Linked DNA regions of Homo sapiens: region 2 is linked to region 1. The links are contacts of gene promoters, found by promoter capture Hi-C in blood cells and fetal thymus (Javierre and others, 2016). All regions are on one chromosome and are shown on one strand. Each heading gives the region's core, a stretch centred on a gene start or on the middle of the fragment in contact. The rest is flanking DNA. Distances are from core to core; before and after follow the strand shown. Region 1 holds the start of LYPLA2 (lysophospholipase 2). Region 2 overlaps HNRNPR (heterogeneous nuclear ribonucleoprotein R).

Region 1 (6,187 bases), core at 2,376-4,875:
CTGGCCTACGGAAGATACGACACCACTGGGAGGGTTGTGTAGGTGCCAGGGGACCATCGTGGTTCTCTAGGGCGCTGTGGAAATTGGGTCTTGGGCTGGGTGGCATCTGGCAGTCATGGGTAACACTTGCTTTTCCAGTTAATGTGGCCATGTGATTCCAAGTGTCATGTTGCTTTGTGGCAAGATTGTTGTGTGACTTGTTTTTTTGTTTTTGTTTTTGTTTTTTTAAAGGAAACTATTTGTGGGCTATAGGAAACTTTCTGATGCCTCCGGATTGTGTTAGTAGTAGCCATCAGGAGGGTCTCCAACTAAAACACTTGTTCCTGCTTGCTCCTTTCCCCTCTCATTGTTCAGCATTCTTGTCAAGTTGCCCAGCTTGGAGTTGTCTGTCACGCACATGTGTCCTGTGGTTATAGCTAGAAGGACAGGAGTCTCCTGCTGATGCGTGATAGCTTAAGCTTGGGGAGAAGGTCTTTTCCACTGCCTAGCTAAGCAGTCTGGGGAGAGCATGGGGATCATTTCTATGTGTGTGGGTAATCTGGTCAGTAAGATTGAGACTTAGTTAAGATTCCCCTTGGAAATTCCTTAATGTTTATTAGCTTCTAACTAGTGTTGTAAGTCCGATGCCAGAATTTGGAGATTTGAGTTCTTCTTTTCATGGCTTTTATTCACTGTGACTAATAAGCTTCCTAATAAATCCTTGCCAGACTTAATGTTTGTATTTTCTTTTGAGTTCTTGATAGCCACTGATGCAACTTTCATTTCATGGGGAACTGTACTGAACTTTGAAATTTTTTGTTGTTGTTTTGGACTAGGTAGATTATAGGAAGTGCCACAATTAAATCAAGACTGGAGCCGGGCGCGGTGGCTCACGCCTGTAATCCCAGCACTTTGGGAGGCCGAGGTGGGCGGATCACGAGGTCAGGAGATCGAGACCACGGTGAAACCGTCTCTACCAAAAATACAAAAAATTAGCCGGGTGCGGTGGCGGGAGCCTGTAGTCCCAGCTACTCAGGAGGCTGAGGCAGGAGAATGGCATGAACCCGGGAAGCGGAGCTTGCAGTGACCTGAGATTGCACCACTGCACTCCAGCCTGGGTGACAGAGTGAGACTCCGTCTCAAAAAAAAAAAAAAAAAAAATCAAGACTGGATCAGTTTCTCCAGGAATGGTCAAGCTTAATTTTGTACAGTAGGCCAAAAACACTCCTACACCCATATATAGTAAAGAAGAAGGTGGGGTTGAAAACCTGTATTTCACAGAAATTAACTGGGCATGGTGGCGTGCACCTGTAGTCCCAGCCACTTGGGAGGCTGAGGTGGGAGGATCACTGGAGCCCAGGAGGTCGAGGCTACAGTAAGCCATGATTGCGCCACTGCACCCCAGCCTGAGGCAACAGAGTGAGACCTTGTCTCAAAACAACAACAACAAAACCCTATATTTCATTTTGCACAAAAGGAAGTGATTTGTAGAATGACATTTACAAAAATAAGGGAGAACAGATTTTGGAGCTCATCAGAAGAAATGAGGGTGAGGAAAGTAATTGAGCAGCTCATGTGGTCTCCAGGTAGACCAAAGACTTTGGACTTAAATTTTGAAAGTCAGTTTAGCAATTGAAGAGAATGTAAGTATCTAAAAAGGGGATTTGATATGGTCAGTATTCTCTCCCTTGCAGAAAACAGGAACAGGTAATAAAGGGAATTAGTGTTGAATCTGATCCTTTTGGGAGAATTCCTCTGAGGCATTGGCCCATGCTGTTGTTTGGAGGATATAGCCACTGTTTCTCCAGCCTGTCCTAGGAAAGGTCTGCTACCACCAAACCTTGTTGGCCCTCAAAATTTCTAAAATGCAGCCTGAAATAAACCAGAATGCAAATGCTGTTCTTGAAAAGCATGAAGGGTCCTATTCACTCAGCCACAGCCTCTTTATTTCAGTTGGATCATTTTTTGGAGTTAAAAGAAGGGCTATGTTTAAATTTGGAGTAGGGGGAAAAATAAAGTTAAAAATCTTAGAGCAGACTAGCCCTTCACTAATTCCACTAATTAAAGCATTAATCACAGCTCCTGGGACTGAGCCTCTGAATTTGAAGCTTCACTCTGAAGAATTTGTTTTAAGTGTCATGGTGTCTCAGGTGATCGAGGTTGCAGGAGGAACTGTTCATTCTTCCATAAGTGGGGACATTACCCTCCATTTTCTTTTGACATTCAGTCCTGGGTCCTTGGCTTGTGGTGGTCCCATAGGCTCAAAGGTTTCCTGCCCCGAATCCTGGTATTGTAGGCTCCCTGACCTGTTGAGTACTTAGGACCAAAGTGCCTCTGGGCCTGGGGGAAAGTGCTTTGTTGAGCTTCCAACTTTGTACTGTTTTCTTTTTCTTTTCTTTCTTTTTTTTTTTTTTTTTTTTTTGAGACAGAGTCTCGCTTTGTTGCCCAGGCTGGAGTGTAGTGGCACTATCTTGGCTCACTGCAAGCTCCGCCTCCCGGGTTCACGCCATTCTCCTGCCTCAGCCTCCCCCCGAGTAGCTAGGACTACAGGCGCCCGCCACAGCGCCAGGCTAATTTTTTGTATTTTTAGTAGAGACAGGGTTTCACCGTGTTAGCCAGGATGGTCTCGATCTCCTGACCTCGTGATCCGCCCGCCTCAGCCTCCCAAAGTGCTGGGATTACAGGAGTGAGCCACCGCGCCTGGCTGTACTGTTTTCTTTCTGTTCAAAGAAAACACTAGTATAGGTTAGGCTGGGAGAGTGAGTCCTAAGCGGCTGAGGGTCAAGTGTGACTCATTTCCTATTTGCAGATCCCCACACATTCTCAGGGACATGCTCCTTCAACTCAGTTTGCCTGCCTTCTGACTTTTCTGTGGTCCCTGATACCTATTTCCACTTCAGCTTGATGGCAGCGTTTTGTGCACTGTCTGCATGACATTGCTTGTGAAGGGCAGCGCTAACACTGCCAGTGCCTGTCCAGCTCTCCTGATACGGCCTTTGTATTTTTCCTAGGTCCTTTTTTGCGTGATTAACACCTCACGCTGTGATTTTACTGTATAAACCATGTTCACACAACCTCATTTAAGCCTACCAACAAAGCTGTGAAGGAGGCAGGGTGGTTATTACCATTTTATATATCAGGAAGCAGATCCAGAGAGGCAGAATTTAAATGGAATCCCGAGGTTGCTGTTTACATGCCTTCCTTGAGCCTCAGTTTCCCCATCTTCAAGGCTGGAGAACTAGATGATCTGTAAGGTCTCTTCGGTTCAGAGTGTGTCATTCCATTCATGATCCTGGAATAGGGCATGAAAGCCAGTGGCAGACACCCGAGGCCTTAAGAGGTGTGTCCCATGAGGATGGGAAGGTGGTAAAGTTTATGCAAACAATAGTGTGAGGGATGCCTCTCCTTCCGGTCGGCCCTCCTCCAGGAGGCGCATGGGTGGTGGTAGCAAGTGGGAGTCTTGGGTGCCCTGTCTCGAATCTACAAGGTGGGAGCGGGTGAGAACCCAGCGACTGCGCGGCTGAATGACAGGGAGTAGCCCCGCCGCCTCCAACATGGCAGCTTCTATCCAGCGAAGCCGGGTCCCCGCTTCCGGGTTCCGTACTGTCGGCCAGGCTACTTCCGGCAGCGCGATGGCTGGGTTCCCGGGACTCGAACGGAAGTTCCGGCGGGGGCGGCCGAGGGGGAAGAGTGTGTCTGCGGGAGAAAGAGGAGAATCGCCCAAGCGGCCTCGGAAGTCCCAGGGAGTGGAGGTACCCAGCCGGCGGCTGCGGAGGATGGGCGTGTAGGGGGAGGTCGGCCTCGGGAGGGTCCCGGAGAGCGGGGAGGGGGAACCGTGATGGGGGGGATGGGGGTGGGGAGTGAGGTGCGAAGGCGCTGTCCAGTCTTGGGGACTTCGGGAGTGGAGCGGGGCTAGGCAAGGGGGTGTCTGAGTATAAAGAGACAGACTTCAGGGTCGGAAATAGAAGAGCCCATTGTGGGGCGGGGGCTTCCCCAGAGTCAAAGGTACAAAGCTTTATTGTGGGCAGGTGGGAGTCCTGGGTCAGGGTAGAAAATTTCACTGGGTAGGGTGACCTTTGGTCAGAACAGAAGTTCCCATTGTGGGGAGCGGGAGATCCTGGGTCAGGGTGGAAGTTCTCAAGGTGTATAGAGAGAGACAGGTCAGGGGGAAGGCACCCCTCCGAGGAGGGAGCCTGGGCGGGAGGTGCAAGTCCCCACGGTGGAGAAGGAAGGGAATCGCAGCTCAGGGCAGGAGGTGCATTCCCCATGGGAAGAGGAACCCCGGGTCACAGGTGAACGATCCCATTGTGGGGAGCTGCCCTCAGGGGTCAGAGATGGAAGGTGAGGCCAGTTGGGAGGGGTGGGCAGGCACTTGAGGCAGGTAGTGGAAGCTTCCGGCGAGTTTGGAGGACGCCGAGGATGGGGAGGGGCCAGCCAGCCTGACATTCTTTTGTGTGTTTGGGAGTCCCAGAGCGTGGTCAAGCCAGGGCTCGTTTGCAGTCAGTGGCAGCAGCAGCAGGTAGCTCCGTTTAGGGGGGGCGTGGAGCACCAGTTTGGGGGTGGGTGGAGTTCTTACGCTTTCTGGGGACATGGGCAGCCCCCTGGGGGTCTGGGAATGGATGGGCCAGAAACTGCTGTGAAGGCTGGATGGGGGCTGGGTGGGGGGAGGTTGAGATGGGGGTTGGAGGCGGCACTGAGTAGGGGATGGAAGCTCCTTTCCCTGGCACTTTTCTCTCCATTTCCCATAGGGCCCGGAGTTGGGGAGGCAGGGACCCAGGGATGATTGGAGAGGAGGGGGAAGGCACTCACCCCTGAGGAGTTAGAGGGGGAATGAAGCAGGCGTGCCGCTGCCTCCCCTCTGCCCCCTGCCCTACAGTCCCTATGCCCTGCCTCTGCCTGTCTCCAGCAAGCTCAGGTCCTGTGGTTGGGCCAGAACCAGAGACACATGTTCTGGGCCACTAGGGAGGCTGTCTCTGCCTTTCAGCCCTGGAACTGAGGCAGACTTCTTCTCCTGTGCCCTGGGACTTCTTGCTTGACTATTCTTTGTGCCCAGGACAGAACCTGGGTGCTGTGTGGGGCTGATGGCCTGGTGGCCTCTTGGGCCAGGAGTGTGTCCTGTGCCTGGTTTTGCTCTTGACCGCCGCCCCGATGTATGCAGGCCCCCGCCGTGGAGCCGTGTGGTGTATGTGTGGTAACACCATGTCTGTGCCCCTGCTCACCGATGCTGCCACCGTGTCTGGAGCTGAGCGGGAAACGGCCGCGGTAAGGGTCCCCTTTCACCCACGGCCAGACACTGTGGGAGCAGCTGGAGGACCGGCTGGAGGGGGTGTGGGAAAATGGAGGTGGCAGTGATGAGCAGGGAGTATCCTGAGGCCAGCAGGCTCGGGGTAGTAACCTGTTTGGCTGCTACCTGGGTTCCCCCAGGTCCTTGGGGGTGGGGGAGGGGTGGGCAGAAGTTGGAGGACCTAGGGGAAGCCTTCCTGTCTCCCCATTTCCCATCCTTTTCCAGGTTATTTTTTTACATGGACTTGGAGACACAGGGTAAGTGACTGAGGAGGGGTGCTCCTTAAGGAGGGGTCCTGGCCCAGCAGCGGACTGGAGAGGCCTTCTCTTCCTACCACATCGGAGCCTTTTCTCCCGTCCCTCCTACAGGCACAGCTGGGCTGACGCCCTCTCCACCATCCGGCTCCCTCACGTCAAGTACATCTGTCCCCATGCGTGAGTGTCACCCCAGCAAGGGAGGGGCTGAGGCTGGGGATCATCTGGGGGTGGTCCTGTCATCCCAGGCCTGTTCTCTCCTGTCAGTTGCATCCTGGGGCTTGGGCTCAGGGCAGTCAGAAGTGGCATTTTCAGCCTGAGCTCCTGTGGAGCCCCCAGGAGTGGGGTCCAGCACCAGCCCCCAGCCCTAGGGCCTCCTAGACCTGAGCTCTCCTAGAACCCACACCTCCCTTTGCCCCTTCCCCAAGTACTCACCGACTACCTGGGACCCCGTCACACCAAGCGCTGGGCTCTGCTTCTCCATTACTGGCGCTTTGCCCCAACCACAGCCTCCAGCCCCACGTGGCAGGTTGCCTGGCAACACCTTAAACACAGGCCCTGCCTGCTGGGAGGGGCCACCAGGGGCGGCGCGGCCCCACTCCGGGCTCTGAGCTCTGGCCTCCTCATTCCTCCTGAGCATGATGGGCCCTCTGGCTCTCTTTCCCCAGGC
Region 2 (6,187 bases), core at 2,551-5,050, 450 kb before region 1:
CAGGAGATCGAGACCAATCTGGCCAACACAGTGAAACCCTATCTTTCCTAAAAATACAAATAATTAGCTGGGTGTGGTGGTGCATGGCTGTAATCCCAGCTACTTGGGAGGCTGAGGCAGGAGAATGGCATGAACTTGGGAGGTGGAGCTTGCAGTGATCCAAGACTGCGCCGCTACTCCAGCCTGGGCGACAGAGCAAGACTCCGTCTCAAAAAAAAAAAAAGTGAAACTTTCTAGGAAACATGGAAAGAGGCATTTGACCTCATCATTAAATGCAATTTCATTACAACTACCCAAGTCAAGTTTTACCTTGATCTTCGCTTCATCAGGTCCCTTTGTGGACTCTTGCACCTTGCTCCCCTGTTTCTCTCTCTGCCTGTAGGTCTTCATAACTCCACATAAAAATGCACTTTTGTTCTAGAACAGACAAGTAATTCAATAAAAAGAATCACCAAAAATATCTGAAGGGTCAGATACATAATTAAATTTAAATTTCAGAAAACCAGGATTTTAACAAAAGATTTACTGATTCATTCAACAAGTATTTGCCGAGTGGTTACTATGTGCCAGAGATTGGAGCAGACAGCAGTAAGGCAGTATAGACCTCAGGGAGCTTACCTTCTACCCTGGGAAAACACAGTCTTCCACTTGTTGATATGTGACTGTATCTAGACTGTCTTTGCCAGATGTCGGAAACTATTCCTCCCACCTACATTTTCCTCCAAGATAATAAAACAGGATCAAATAACCCCCAAATGTTAAAAAGCTGAGTAACATGTAAAAACCTATAGTAACAACCATCAAAACTTGGCTTTAATTTTAAGTTTTTAAAATAACTTACTGCACAAGGGGGTGGGAGAAAACTTTTGCTTTATACTTGGGCTTCTGAAACTCTGCCACAAGCAGTTTTTTTCCTTTAAACTAATTTTTTAAAAGAAGAGGTAGTCACAAACAAAAAATACCACTTCTCCATAGGAAAAAAAGTAATAGTAAAATAATTTCAGATTACTAATTGTTCAAAGACATTTCTGAGTAACGACCTTACCTGAACATGTGATAAGTCACTTTCCTTGAACTGCTGTAGTACAGACAGAGCTCCTTCTTCATTAAATTCCCTGAGAGCATCAATTGCTCTTTCATCAAGATCGACATAAGCTACCAATCCTAAAAATTAAATTGAAAGGGGTAACGTTATTGCAACAAAAGGGGTAATCTAAGCTCTACTGACGTTTAATCAAGAATTGTTACATTCAATATGATCACTAACAAACTGTATTTTCATTTAACTATATGCATATACGCAGCTATCCAAATACTACATAGAAAGGTCCAGGACAAATATGAAAATAAAGATAAAATGTCAACAACCAAAAACATGAATTTCAATCTCCATATCCACAAACCTCCCCCGCCAAATCCTAACATCCATTTCCCACTCCCCCAAAGGTATAAGTCTTGAAAGTTAAATCTGATGTACATACTGTATTACAGATTATGCATTAATACAACAAATTTTGGTTTATATTAGAGTGATAAGAATACATTGCGTTTTCCAAGGATAAACCTTCAAATTACAGACGGTTACAGTTGATGCTAACCACCTAAGAGGTGGAGGAAAATCTGAAAACAAATTTTACTAAGTAATTCTTTCCACTCTCCAAAAAGTGTCAAAAGGCTTTCCCTCCTGAACACCAAAGATAAACTGAAATGCATTTGTTTATCTGAGCATCCACTTTGCTGCAGTCAGAATGTGGAAAGGCATAATTTTAAACTTCTACAAATGCAAGTGCAGCTTGATTAATCAATTCTGAAAGTCATACTTTAAGGCATTCTTTGTTCTTCTGAAGTGACAAGCTGAGATTTAAAAGATGCTGTGGCATTCACATTGACTGTCAAGAACGACAATCATTTTCAAATGGCAATAAAGACTTTATGGTCTTACAAGTAAACTTGACAGAAAATATATACACTGCATTTCATATATGTAAGTATATTCAACTGCACACAGAACATCTACTAAGTTTAAAATATAATTTCTTAAGTCTGTTAAGTTTGTGTCATATTTACATATGGAATATATTTCAGAATTGATCCAACGTAAAATGCAAGTATTTCGTAGATTAAAACCCCCAAGTTCATATGAACATGAAAAGTGACTCCATTTTGATAAAGCTAAAAAGAACTTTATTCCATATAGTAAATTTTAAATAAATGTAATGCCACTTCCAAAGTTACTTTTTAAAAAAGTTGCCATGATTTGTTTCAAAAGCTCGAAATGAGCATGTGTAAATAACTGGAGCTGCCTCACTTGAATATTCCATACCACCACCCGAAGCCACAACTCAGGACACCCATCAATCCATTTTGTCAAACCAAGTCTACGCCCAAACCATCAGCCTCTTATCAATAACAAAACACTCTACAAGAGAGCATCTCTAAGCAGATCACTGCCAATTCTCTATGGCAGAATGTCACAGAAAGTTCCTGAGGACTGATTTTCAAATGCGACCATGACCCAGGAGTCATTTTTATAAGTCATTTTAATGTCTAAAATTATGCTAAGCTTCCCAGATTTAAAAATTTTTTAAGGACAAAAAAAAAAAAACAGCTATTTGCTACTACTGTACTTAAGACACATTTGTGAGTGAGACAATTCAATTCTCTCTCAGAATCTGAATAGGCACACACAACACAGAGGAAGAAAGTTTCCATCTATGTCCCCAAAGGAGGAGGACACATTCATTTATGAACAACGCTCCCTAAGGGTAAATATTTCTCTCCCTCTTTAAAACTTCAAACCACTTACAACCAACTATATTAAGATGTTCAAATTTGCTTAAGCACTTAACCATGGCACTTCTGGATTAAAAAAAAAAAAAAGAAGCAGCTGTTACAACCAAACACTTCCAAATTACGGAGAGATGTGGATTTCTATTAGAAACTAGACAAGCCACAAACTCTCAAGGAGTCTGACATTTATTATGGTTTCAGACGATACAGCTATCCTCTTGTTATGCCACCTAATCAGACCTAAGCTGATTTAACAATCACTTTAAGAAGGTAAAAGTAGAAAAGCAAAAGCAAAATGATGACTGATTTTGATTAAGAAAAAAATGTAAAATTTGGTATGCAGAAACATACATTTTTATGGGTGGTAAATCTAAGACAAATCGATGTGCTGTTCTGAAACAACTAAGACTGCATATTCAACACTAAGAAGGCTTCAAAATAATGAAATAAGAGTATCAAAGTCAAACCCAATATGCCTTCAATGAAGGGAAAGTAACAAACATTCAGCTCTACAGATCAGAAACAATAAGTATTATTTAACCTTAAAAAACTATAAAATTCAAAGTGGTTTGCCCTCACTTTCATAACCAGTCAGAAACAAGAAATGCATATTATACCTGTCTGAAATATTTCATCAAGTCTTTCTGCCACCTTCTGTGGGAGGCCTGCCTCTATCAGTGTCTTGTAGTGTTCTGTGTGAGTTACACTGGAAGTATCCATTGGTTCTTCCTCTTCTTTTAACTGTACCGCATTACCATTCACCTGATTAGCCATTTTATTATGCTGCTGGAAAAAATTCAGGAGCTATATTACATTAAGCCAGAAATAACTAGTTTGTAGGACAATGCATGATTTATCTAAACTAATTTGTATACATGCTGCTAATAACCTCTATCAAAATAATAATTTATTCCTCCTGTGATGTATCTGACCTAAATTGGCAATAATAATCCTGTAAAACCATAGAAAATGTACATGGAAGCATTAGATCTTTAAGGAACTTCATGTACACCGGGTAAGATAAAGGCTTTAATTTACTGAAGGTAGAATTGCTGATTAACAAAAGCAGCTGTTCTGTCCTGGTGAAAAGATCAAAATCACTACAAAATCCTTTACTAAAAAGCCCCTCAGCTCTCGGGTCTTACACAGTTTTAAAAAGTTTTGTTTTAAAAACAGAATGAACACCCACAGACCACTTAATCAAGATTTAAGGACTTTCAAATTTTCCTGGCTCTGCTTCAAATACAGTATCGGTGTGAAATAAGTGCCCTGTTTTCTCTAGTTCAACATGCTGGTGGTTTGGGTTTTCTCCACCTAACAATACAAAACGAAAACAAAAAAAAACCAACTTGACATTAATTTTTGTTCTAAGATTAATTCGCTATTCCCACAGATTTAAAAGAAAAAATGACCAAGTTTAAAAGCGAAACAATTGTTTTCAGTCCAAATAAAATACTAAGTGAGCTATAGTTTAGGTTGCTTCTTAAAAAAAAAGAGTACATGTTGAAATTTTCATATCAGTAAAATAAAGATGTAAAAACATACTGAAGAATGGACAACTTCTTCCAAATATTTCAAAAACCGTTACCTAATTAGGCTAAACTTCAGCCAGATTTCTCAGATTAACCTATCAAAAATAATTTTGTACATTCAGCCTGTAGGTAATGCTGAAATGGACTGACTCCCTGAAGAGAGAGAGTAAACAATAAACCATACAAGGCCAGTCTGTGTACTGCCTCAAAAGACAGGGAATTAAAGTGCATTTGTCTGTGGTGAAATTACAATGTGATGAAGATAATAGGCAGCAGAACAAGACATTGCAACACATACTAAATAAAAGACATAAAGGTGGATCTCAAGAAAAAGCCTACTTTTCTTGATGAAACTCAAGATACCTAGTCATCTATAAAGAAAATACAAGTCTCCTACAAAGTACTAAGACACATAAGATAACCACACTTCCCGACAGCTTATCGAACATTGTGCAAATGCACCAGGTGCAGTTTTCTGGCTTAAAACAACTTCTTTTCATTTCAAAGTCCACTGATACTTAGTTGAAGTTAACGAAAGAGGGAGGAAGACCAAGAGGGGAAGGAGGTAATAGAGAGTAGGAAGAAGAAGAAAATGCAAAGGATTACTCTGAAAATGAGATAAACATGACTCCTCACAATTACAAAACACTATTAAGACTCGATAGCCCTTAATAGACGCAGACTGTGGTTAAATTCTGGGTGGATGTTTCTCAAGACAAGCTTCAAATTCTGATGAACTAGCAAAAACGGAAACATTCGAAATGTCACACTTTTGATCAAGAAACTGTATTGTGTGAGATGAATACGTTTACTGATTAACACGACCTATTTCTATAAAGATGCATCCTAAAACACAAAATCTCCTTGCGAACATAAGGTTCTGTTTTCCCATGCTCCCCCATCCCCACATACTACCTTAAGATCATCAGAACTCAAAAGTTCTCAGTATCACAAGACCCTTACAGCATTGTACCTAGGAATACTATCAGTCACAGAAAAGAGGCAAATTTTTAACAGAAAAGTTCAATGAACATCTGTTAAGGTGGGGTTTTTAAGTATGTGTAAAGCAAAAAGACAAGTTGTGTATTAAGTACAAGACAGAAATATTTATGCCTACCATTTCATTGCAAAGGCTCTACAAGTTGATACTGAAATTGGTTAAAATTTTCAAAAAAAGTTTGTAAATTTTAACAAAAAAACCGTAAAATAATTAGATTCCAGAAAATAAAACCTTCGGATCAAGGAAAGCCCTCTCTCTTCAAGCCAAATACAAAATGCTCATTTTGAAAAGACTTTTTATGTCATATGAGACCATTTGAAACTCATTCAAATGTGGCATTCAACACAATGCCACACAGCCAAACCATATTTCTGGATGCAGCAAATATACTAACGTGACTGGAGTCATTTGATCTAAACATTTTTGCAAAAAAAAAGGAGACATTTAAAGATTTAAAAGGGCTGCTGGGAGATTCGGGATGTCAGCACTAACTCCTCCCTGACTTTTTCTGAACCTCTCTGTGCAAATTCTTCATATTAAGAGACGGGCTTTAAAAGAACCAACGAAATGAGACTAACGGTTATCTCATGGCTTAGGAGTGTCGAGCTCTCATCCTACGACTGACTCATGAGACATCAATTCAGCCACTTGAGGACTGCAAAAATCTCAAACAGGTAGTGTGAAAGGACTGAACCTTCCAAGAAGCCCTGGGCTTTTTTAAAAATTTGGCAATACGGCCACTACCGTGTAAGAAAAAGGATCGCCTTTCCAATTTGGTGCGCCTCTGACAGTCTCAGAATTATCCATTTCAGGCGCCGCTTGGAGCCTAAGTTCTACGGCCTCTAGTAGTCATTTTTTCCTTCAA

What was found. Contacts are between HindIII fragments. The CHiCAGO score rates a contact against its expected background, and 5 or more counts as called.
Region 2: a contact is called between a fragment that was not itself captured here and the fragment with the promoter of LYPLA2 in region 1, in 1 of 17 cell types (fetal thymus). The highest score is 5.5, in fetal thymus.

The regions. Positions count from the first base shown.
Region 1 is chr1:23,787,520-23,793,706 of GRCh38, forward strand. LYPLA2 (lysophospholipase 2) reads left to right here and starts at 3,626. Exons shown (of 10, transcript NM_007260.3): 1 at 3,626-3,731; 2 at 5,138-5,241; 3 at 5,489-5,520; 4 at 5,632-5,697; 5 at 6,186-6,187. The coding sequence starts at 5,164. LOC105376860 (a long non-coding RNA gene) reads right to left here and starts at 6,013. Exons shown (of 2, transcript XR_947067.3): 1 at 5,953-6,013; 2 at 3,095-3,271. It overlaps PITHD1 (PITH domain containing 1), which reads left to right. Exons shown (of 6, transcript NM_020362.5): 6 at 1-713. RefSeq lists a silencer at 3,804-3,863. The HindIII fragment of the contact is 1,905 bases long and covers 2,086-3,990 here.
Region 2 is chr1:23,337,445-23,343,631 of GRCh38, forward strand. HNRNPR (heterogeneous nuclear ribonucleoprotein R) reads right to left here. Exons shown (of 11, transcript NM_005826.5): 2 at 3,408-3,573; 3 at 1,046-1,164; 4 at 310-417. The coding sequence starts at 3,564. Among named protein-coding and RNA genes, the nearest start is that of HNRNPR, 3.7 kb to the right of the region's middle. The HindIII fragment of the contact is 2,479 bases long and covers 2,562-5,040 here.